3 separate regions of the Homo sapiens genome follow, and regions 2 and 3 are each linked to region 1. Evidence: promoter capture Hi-C in human tissues and cell types (Jung and others, 2019). All regions are on one chromosome and are shown on one strand. Each heading gives the region's core, a stretch centred on a gene start or on the middle of the fragment in contact. The rest is flanking DNA. Distances are from core to core; before and after follow the strand shown. Region 1 holds the start of VIPR2 (vasoactive intestinal peptide receptor 2). Region 2 has its middle 110 kb from the start of VIPR2. Region 3 overlaps VIPR2 (vasoactive intestinal peptide receptor 2).

Evidence for each region. The method cuts DNA at HindIII sites, captures the fragments that hold promoters and counts their contacts. A contact is called where the count stands out against the background at its distance.
Region 2: a contact is called between a fragment that was not itself captured here and the fragment with the promoter of VIPR2 in region 1, in 3 of the 25 tissues and cell types used here (H1 embryonic stem cells, dorsolateral prefrontal cortex and spleen).
Region 3: a fragment that was not itself captured here is called in contact with the fragment with the promoter of VIPR2 in region 1 in 5 of the 25 tissues and cell types used here (H1 embryonic stem cells, dorsolateral prefrontal cortex, ovary and 2 more).

The regions. Positions count from the first base shown.
Region 1 is chr7:159,143,366-159,146,294 of GRCh38, forward strand. It overlaps VIPR2 (vasoactive intestinal peptide receptor 2), which reads right to left and starts at 1,502. Exons shown (of 13, transcript NM_003382.5): 1 at 1,356-1,502. The coding sequence starts at 1,406. The HindIII fragment of the contact is 14,641 bases long and covers 1-2,929 here.
Region 2 is chr7:159,255,436-159,258,364 of GRCh38, forward strand. No RefSeq gene overlaps it. Among named protein-coding and RNA genes, the nearest start is that of VIPR2, 110 kb to the left of the region's middle. The HindIII fragment of the contact is 7,606 bases long and covers 1-2,929 here.
Region 3 is chr7:159,074,025-159,076,953 of GRCh38, forward strand. All of the region lies in intron 4 of VIPR2 (vasoactive intestinal peptide receptor 2), which reads right to left. Among named protein-coding and RNA genes, the nearest start is that of LINC00689, 67 kb to the left of the region's middle. The HindIII fragment of the contact is 3,943 bases long and covers 1-2,929 here.

The DNA.
Region 1 (2,929 bases), core at 252-2,751:
TCCCCCTCCCCCACCACCGACCAAAATTCTACTTGTACTAAAGTAGTAACTAAAGAGAATCATACTGTTGGGCGTACTATGGCCATCTATGTTTAGTTATCTTACTATTGAAATGGTCAATGAGAGTTCCAACCAGGAACACAATATCCTAACAGAATTAAGGGGAAAACAATGCTGGAACTTCTGCCACCTTCAGCCCCATTTAAAAGAGCCCCGAGCTTGCTTCTTGCTCGTGACTGAACCAGCACCAGGCACTGACTTTGGGCTCCAAGTCCTCTGTTTTCATGCAGGACAAGTAAGTGGCTTAAATTTCAGAATTAAGGAAATTATATTGATGTAAAAAGAAAAACTTTGTTAAAGTGTAAAAGACATTAATAATACCTGACGTTCCTGGAATATGCACAGCAATGACTTCTTTTAGGACATTTTAGCAATGAAAGCAGCATTAACCGTGATAAAACCCGTTACTTTCCAAGGACCCGCTCCGCAAAGCGCCCACCCTCGAGGGAGGAAAGCCGAGCTGCGCCTCCGCGCAAGGCCAGGGAGTGTGGCTCGAGCCCCGCTGCAGACCGGGCGTCGCCGGTTAATCAATGACACTGTCGGGTCAGCAGCGCAGCCTCCCAGCTGCGGAGGGGCCGCGGATCGATCCAGACCTGCCTCGGCTGCGACGCGCACGAAAACCGCGCGCACCGCAAACCCGCTTCAGTCTCCAAGAGGAAAGCAAGAAACAAGGCTCGGGTTTTTTTCTTTCTTTTTTCTTTCCTTTTTTTTTAAGGTTCACAGAGGGAATAATTCAGAACTCCATGTGCGAAGGCACTTAATCAACAAACTTATGAGCAGTTAGTTCCTCCAGTGCCCTTGGGAAAAAGCAACTATTTCCAAAAGGAAACTTTATTTAACCGACGCCACGTCCCCCCGACACTAAAACTAACCAGTAAGTACAGGGAGGGACCGAGAGGCATCTGCGGCCAACGCCAACCCCGATCTCCCCGTGAAACGCGCAGCCCGCGCAGGCGCCCGCAGCTCCCAGCTCCCGGGACGGCCCCGAACGAGCTCATCGTTGACGCGTCCAGGAAGAAACGATCCCGTTTCCAGCAAACCCCGGACGGTGGGGCGCGGGGAAGGGCGCAGGCAGCCTCCCAACCCGAGTCCCGCAACCCGGCGGGACCGGAGCTCAGCGCTTCACGCTCTCCGGGAGGAAGCTCCGGACCCCGGGCGACCCCGCTCCCTCTCCCGGACCCCGCCCGCGCTCCAGCACCCGGGAGGAAGGCGAAGACCGGCGGGAGGAGCGCTCTTCTCGGAAGGGGAGAACCGGGTCCGAGGCGCCGTGGGGCGGGGGTCGCGGGCGCACTCACGGGGGCGAGCAGCCAGCAGGTCAGCAGCGCGGGAGGCAGCAGCGTCCGCATCCCGAGCTCAGCGTGCCGGGGGCCGCCCAGCGCCCGCCGCCTCCGTCCTAGGTCCCCGCGGTTCCGCCGCCTCCAGCATGGGCCGGGAGCGAGTGCGCGGAGACCTCGGGCCCCGCAGCTGTAGCCGAGCGCCCGAGCGCGGGGGCCGCCCCCTCCGTCCCGGCAGCTGGAGCGCGCTCAATGCACGCCCGTCCCCCACGCGCCCCGCCGCTCCGCCCCCCGCCCCTGTCCCCGCCCCGCGCTGCCCCAATCCTCGTCTCCCTCCTCCCCCGAGAACCCCCGCTCCGCGCCCCTCCTCACCGCCCCCCACTTCCCCTTCCGCTGCGCCCCGCGCCCTCTCCTCGCCCCTGGGCTCTCTGTCCCCGCCGCGCGCGCTCCCTCTGGTCTCCTCGACCCCCCCAGCCTCTCTCTCCGTTCTCCTCCCCTCTTCCCTGGCCCACGCCCCCCTCCCGGCCGCGCCTCCCCGATCTGTGGGCGGAGGGGCTGGGAAGCGGGGTGCTCAGTGCGCGCCCGGCTCCGAGTAGAGAGAACTGGGGGAGAGCGGCCGGCGCGGGGCCGGGAGAGGAGGACCGGGCCAGGTGTGCGCTCGGAAGGGGCGGATGCCTTTGCGGCCGCCTGTACCTGCCTTTCTAAACAACTGCGGAAGCCCAAGAAAGCGGCCAGAGACCCGTCCGGGGTGGGCGCGCCGTCTTTGTAGCCAGTGGGGCTAGGTTGGGGCATCTGAAAATGGAGAAAATCAGAGTGCTTTTTGGTGGGGATCCCCGCAGCCTCAAAGAGGACATCAGGTCGAACAGAAAGCTGGAGAAAAACGCAGACGGGGGTATAGGTGGGTCCCAGCCTCAGCTGGGTGGCGGGTTTTGTGTCCTGCGTTTGCAAAACGGGGGTCATTCTCTCCCCGCAAACGCGGCGGCGGGTGGGGAACGCTGGGCGGGGACTCACGCGGTGCCACTGGGGCCGCCCCGCCGCGCCCCACGCGGGACTGCGCGGCCTCCCAAGGCGCCCGCGTGACCAACCCAGGAGAGCTCGGCGTTCCCCAGCAAGTGGAAAGCACTGGAATGAGAGATACAAGTTAAGTTCGTGTTGTTTTAATTTTTTATTTGGAAATAATTTCAAACTTACACAAAAATTAGAAGAATAAGAATATTACAAATAACTCCTTTTTATCCTTTTTGTGGATTCGGTCATTAACATTTACCTCATTGGGCTTATCATTTGCTTCTCTCTGATCCCCCACCCCCCGTATTCACAGATATCGATTTTTCTATCATCTGATGTTTATCATCCACATTATCTATCATCTACCTATCCATCATCTACGTATCATCTATCGATCTGTCATGTACCTATCATCTATCATCTTCCTATCGATCATCTATCTGTAATCTGTCATCTATTATCTGTCATCTATCATCTACCTGTCCATCATCTACCTTTCATCTATCCATCTGTCAGGTATCTATCATCATGCGCCTATCATCTATCATCCACCTTTCCTCTATCACCTACCTGTCATCTATTATCTA
Region 2 (2,929 bases), core at 251-2,750, 110 kb after region 1:
TGGGCTGGAAAACCTTCAGAAAACTGTCTGTCTTCACTCCACCCCTGCACAGCCCTCTCTTCCTCCAAAGATCTGTGGTTTGGGACAGGCTAGTACAGAATTTGGTTCTGGGCAGGTACACTTGGCTTCCATTTCAAAGCACCCAAGTCAACCTGGCAACCTGAAGGAACTAGAAAAGCTTCTGCTAATCAGTTGTTGGTCAGCAGCCCTGATTCTTGTGGACGGCAGGGACGATAGGCTCTCCTGGGAAGCAGCGGTCTTTGGAACTGTGGGGACCACAAAAGCTCTCCCTGTGCCGGCACCACGGCCCTCCCACTTCATCACTGCCGTCTAACTGCCCTCAAACTGTCACTCCTTTTCCTGAATCATTAGTTTTCTTGGAAAAAAATAATCAGACCCATAAGGAGGAGGAGAGTATGAAGGAAAAAATAAAACCAAAATGAGCAAAATTCTTCCAGTCAATGGGGGTGGGGAAATAAGACTCATCAGCAGCCCCTCAAAAATAACATGATTATCTTTTATTCCTTTTTACTTTTGGAGTTCTGTTGTAAATACTTACATTACATATAAAAGCAGTTTAAAAAAATTTCCATAGTGCCACAACTACTTACTGGGGATAATGTGGGTATAATCTTGCCTGCAGGCAAGAGAGAGATTATTACACCTATTTTCAAGCTTTCTGTGACTCTCAAAAATAGATGTTGACATAGGTTTTTGAATGCTTCTGGAAATGTTAAAATCATTATGTGATTATTCAAAATATAGTTTGCCATGTGATCAAAAGCTAATAAACTCTTCTATGTTTATTTTGTTTTAAGGCATAATCGGCACAAATGCATTGTTCCAGTGGCTTAACATTGTATGTAAACGGTATAAACAGAAATTGTGGAAATGTGTGTTTTCACTTGATTCAAACAGAGAAAGAGTTCCAAATACGAAAATGAACTAAATAAAAAATGAGATTGGATTGCTGCCTGAAATTTGTAAATTTAAAAAACTAACTCTCTAAAGTAAATTACTTAGGGACCTTCATATTTACCAAATCTTCTGCATAATAAACTTAGAATTAAACTTAGCCCTCCTACATGCAAATGTAATACAAAGAAAAGCATCAATAAGAGGAATAAACCATGCAAAATATCTCAGATGAATAAGACTCATGGCCAGGTAGGGTGGCGAACGCCTATGACCCCAACGCTTTGGGAAAGCAAAGCAGGAGGATCGCTTGAGCTCAGGAGTTTGAGAACAGCCTGGGCTGCATAGTGAGACCCTGTCTCCACAAGAAGTAAAACAAAAAAAGCAAAAAAAAAATTAGTTCCGTGGTGACGCACACCTGTAGTCCCAGCTACTTGGGAGCCTGAGGTGGGAGGATCGCTTGAGCCTAAGATTTCAAAGCTGCACTGAGCTGTGATTGAGCCACTGCACTCCAGTCTGAGTGAGGGAGCGAGACCTTGTCTCAAAAAGAAAAAGAAAAGATTGATAGTTACAGACTACAGCTTGCCTCAAGGCTGTTTGATTTGTCCTCCTAGAAATCTATCAAGTTTTCTTTATTCAAACCACTCTCTGAGGTGGGGAAAAGCTCCAAATACTGTGTTTTAAGGAGTTGTGCCACCAAAACACCACATAGGAAAACCAAAAAGGATCTTTCCAAAAGGTCCCTGAGACTTACGAATATGACTCCTGAGGAAAGACAGAATTGTTTGCAGATAAAGTGATCAATGTGTTAAAAACTGGCAGATGTGAAAAGGGGGGAAAAGAGATCAATGAACTGAGAGGGTCTGGAGTGGAAACAGGAGAGAGCCAGGGAGTCTTCAAAGGGAGTTGCTGGCTGGGTCTGTTGTAACTAAACCAATCTGGTTCAACTTTTATGCGACTAAGTTTTGAATTATTTTTTAGTTTCCACAGACCCCCAAGTTGAAGGTCACATAACTTGAGCGTGCCCAGATGAACCCAGTGTGCAACATGGGCATAACCTCAGTGGTTGGGCTGAGGAGCGGGGACTGAATTAAGAAGTGGACACGACATGGCGGGATCCAGGATCCAATCAGATCGAACCCTGGCATAACCCATGGCAGGATCCAGTCAGACCACACTTCCCAGCACCACCTCATTGCAAGACCCAACCAGATGATGCCTCACTACCCCTTGACCATAAAACCTGCCCCAACCCCTGACTCAGGAGACACACTTGAGCCCAACTCCTGTGTCCTCGCTCGGCTGCTTGGTAAAAACCCTTCTTGCTGCAAAAATCCAGTGCTTCAGTATTTGGCTTTCCATTACATGTGGGCAAATGGAACCCATTTGGTAACACTGTGAACTCAGGGACTTGAATCAAATGAACTCTCAGCCTGGTGAGGTTGGTTTTGAAGAACTGGACAGAGCGTTTCTATTCTGACTTATACTAATTAATTATGTTATGTATATTTTTATTTTGTCCAGTTTCTAGTAACAATAATTTGAAAAAAACAGTTACAAGAACAATTTACTGAGTATTTACACTGTACTTTATATAAATTTCTTATTTATTCTCTGAACAATCTTAGTAACTCAGTTTATACATGAGAAAACCAAAGGCTGAGAGAGGTGGGGTAAGTTCCCAGAATCATATGGCGCACTTAATAATGGAACCGAGATTTGAACTCAAAGACCACACAATTATGTGTGATACTATGGCAAACTGATGATTTCTTTTTTTTTCTTTTCTTTTTTCATTTTATTTTATTTTATTATTATTATACTTTAAGTTTTAGGGTACATGTACACAATGTGCAGGTTAGTTACATATGTATACATGTGCCATGCTGGTGTGCTGCACCCATTAACTCGTCATTTAGCATTAGGTATATCTCCTAATGCTATTCCCTCCCCCCTCCCCCCACCCCACAACAGTCCCCAGAGTGTGATGTTCCCCTTCCTGTGTCCATGTGTT
Region 3 (2,929 bases), core at 126-2,625, 69 kb before region 1:
TTTTCACATTTTAATCAATAAAATAAAACATGCAAAATGAAATTTTTTACACATTAGAAAAGAAAAAAACAAAACTGTTGCTTGTGGATCATGTAAGTCCATACTCAGAAAAATCAAGAGAAGTCAACAGAAATAATCAGTAAAACTATCAAGTAAATTTAATCAGGCCTCATTCAAAAGAGCTGCACAAAGTGTAAAATATCTAGGAATAAACTGAGCGGAAAATGTTCTGGGCCTAAAGTGAGGAAACTGAAGCACTTCCCCAAGCAACAGAAGAGAAATCCAAATAAAAGGGAGACAGACCCATTTCTGTGTGAAAGACTCAGCTTGCTCAGGACGCCATTTCCTATGTTGAAACTTAACTTTTTGGTGATGGTATCAAGAGGTGGGGCCTCTGGAAGGTGATCAGTTTGTGAGGGTGGAGCCCTCATGAACAGGGTTAGAGCCCCTTGTCCCTCCACTGTGTGGGAGCATCGTGAGAGGAAATGTGGCCTTACCAGACAAGGAATCGGCTGCACCTTGATCTGGGACTTTGTAGCCTCCAAAGCTTGAAAAATAAATTTCCATTTTTCATAAGTCACCCAGCCTATGATATTTGGTTACTGCAACGTGAATAGACTAAGATAATATACTATTAAAAATTGTTCTTATGACTAGAAATCTATAACAACTTGTTTTTCTGGCTGGGAGCAGTGGCTCATGCCTGTAATCCCAACACTTTGGGAGGCTGAGGTGGGAGGATTGCTTGAGGCTAGGAGTTTGAGACCAGCCTGGTCAACACAGTGAGACTCTGTCACAATGAACAAACAAACAAACAAAAACCCAGATAAAAAAAGAACTCGTTTTTCTGAAGCCAATAGAAAGAGACCAAAGAACATGTAGGAAAAACTGGGTACCCATTATGCTCGAGGTGCCATGAGACAGGTAACTTGGAACAGGAGTGTCTCTATGTCTATGAAAAGTGAACTCAATGAATACCTTATTTAGCTGATATTTAAATAGCTTGGCTTGGCTTTTGGTGTAAAGACAGGCTAAGAAACCTCTTGTTCTGTTAGCCTTAGACTACATGACTACATGTGGCCTTTGCAGATGCTTTTGAAAAGTTTAGGATCCTCCCATTACCACTGTTAAATAAGAATAAAAATGGAGGCTAGAACTGACCTTTGCCTGTGAGTCAATGGCCTACCCTCAGCTCAGCTCAAAATCTACAGATGTCCATTTACCCACTTAAACTGTAAACCAATTTTGAGCTTTATTTCTTTGTTGAAACACCTCAGCACATTGTAGCCAATTAGTGACCCAGGTAATTTACTCAACCTAACCAATGAGAATTAAGCTTATGAACTTCCTCTTTCATAGCATATAAACCTTGCTGTAACCATGAGACAAGCTTCTTACCAGTTTTGGCTTTGAAGTCTCCCTATTTGCAAACAGTTTGTTTCTCACTCAATAAAATCTTCATATCATATTTTTAGTGTCAGGAGTGGGAACCAAAGAAGACCCCTGATGAGGGTTGAGGCCAGTGAGGAGCCCAGGGCTGGCACCCACGGACCCACTGCATCAGGGAGTAGCCCAGGGCTGGCACCCACGGACCTGCCACATCAGGGAGTAGCCCAGGGCCAGCACCCAAGGACCTGCCACATCAGGGAGTAGCCCAGGGCTGGCACCACAGACCTACTGCATCAATGAGTAGCCCAGGGCCAGCACCCACGGACCCACTGCATCAGTGAGTAGCCCAGGGCCGGCACCCACGGACCCGCTGCATCAGTGAGTAGCCCAGGGCCGGCACCCACGGACCCGCTGCATCAGTGAGTAGCCCAGGGCCGGCACCCATGGACCCGCTGCATCAGCGAGTAGCCCAGGGCCGGCACCCAAGGACCTACTGCATTTACTGCTTTCTCACGGGCCGTGGAAGTCCAGGGTAAGTCTCTAGGATCCAATCTCCACACCCTTTGTGTTGAGCTTGCCCATTTTCTTGAGTAATCTTTGTTGAACCTTCTTGGTGGGTCACCCTGTTCTGTACAGAAGTGGAAGAAACAGCTGAACTGTTTTGGAACAGCTGTTCATGTCTGGGTAATTTAAGGCAAAGATGGGTTCCACCTGGTCCAAAATCCTCCGTGGGCCAGGATCTTGTGCGTTTTTGGAAAAATGGGTAAACTTAAAAAAGGATAATTTGGAACTGCCATGGCCACTTTGGGGAACCTTTAACATTTACATATTAGAAAAGAAAAAAACAAAAATGTTGCTTGTAGATCGTGTAAGTCCATAAGTAAGATAGATCAGCTTAGGGGTGCCCTTGAAGACAGAGGATCTTCATCTTTTCAGAGACAGTGAAATGCCTTCTTTGTTATGCAGAAGCTTCTAAAAGACAAACTGATTCTCCAAAAGTATCCTTACAGTGCACAAATGAAAAATCTTTAGTAAAAAAGTCTTTAGCCATTTGAGCAAATTATTTTGTCTGCCAGAAACACAATTTGGATCCAGCTGTTCTTTTATAAACTAGCAAGTTTTGTATTATTGTACCAGACACATGACTGAAATTTCTAAATGGAAGCTGTAAGATCTCTGTCTATCTCTATCTTTATGACATGTGTATTTTTTTTTAACCTCTGGATGGCATTTCCAAAATTAATGTATAAAATAGCTCTATTTAATTGGCTCAAAGAAAAATAAGCACTTGTATAAGTAATTCTAAAACTTTCAGAAAAACAGGAATTTACTCAAATGTTTTTTAAGTTCATGTGACACGGATAATCTTTGGTGAGTAAGAATATCGTTGGTTTAGTTTTTTTAAAAAAAGAAAAGGATATACCTTCAGAGTTGTCAATATTAGTTATAATACAGACATACAACTTTTATTACTAGTTAAGTTATCTCCATTTTACAAAATTGTGCAAGTCCATGGCTTGGTTGCTTAGCCTGGAGTGGC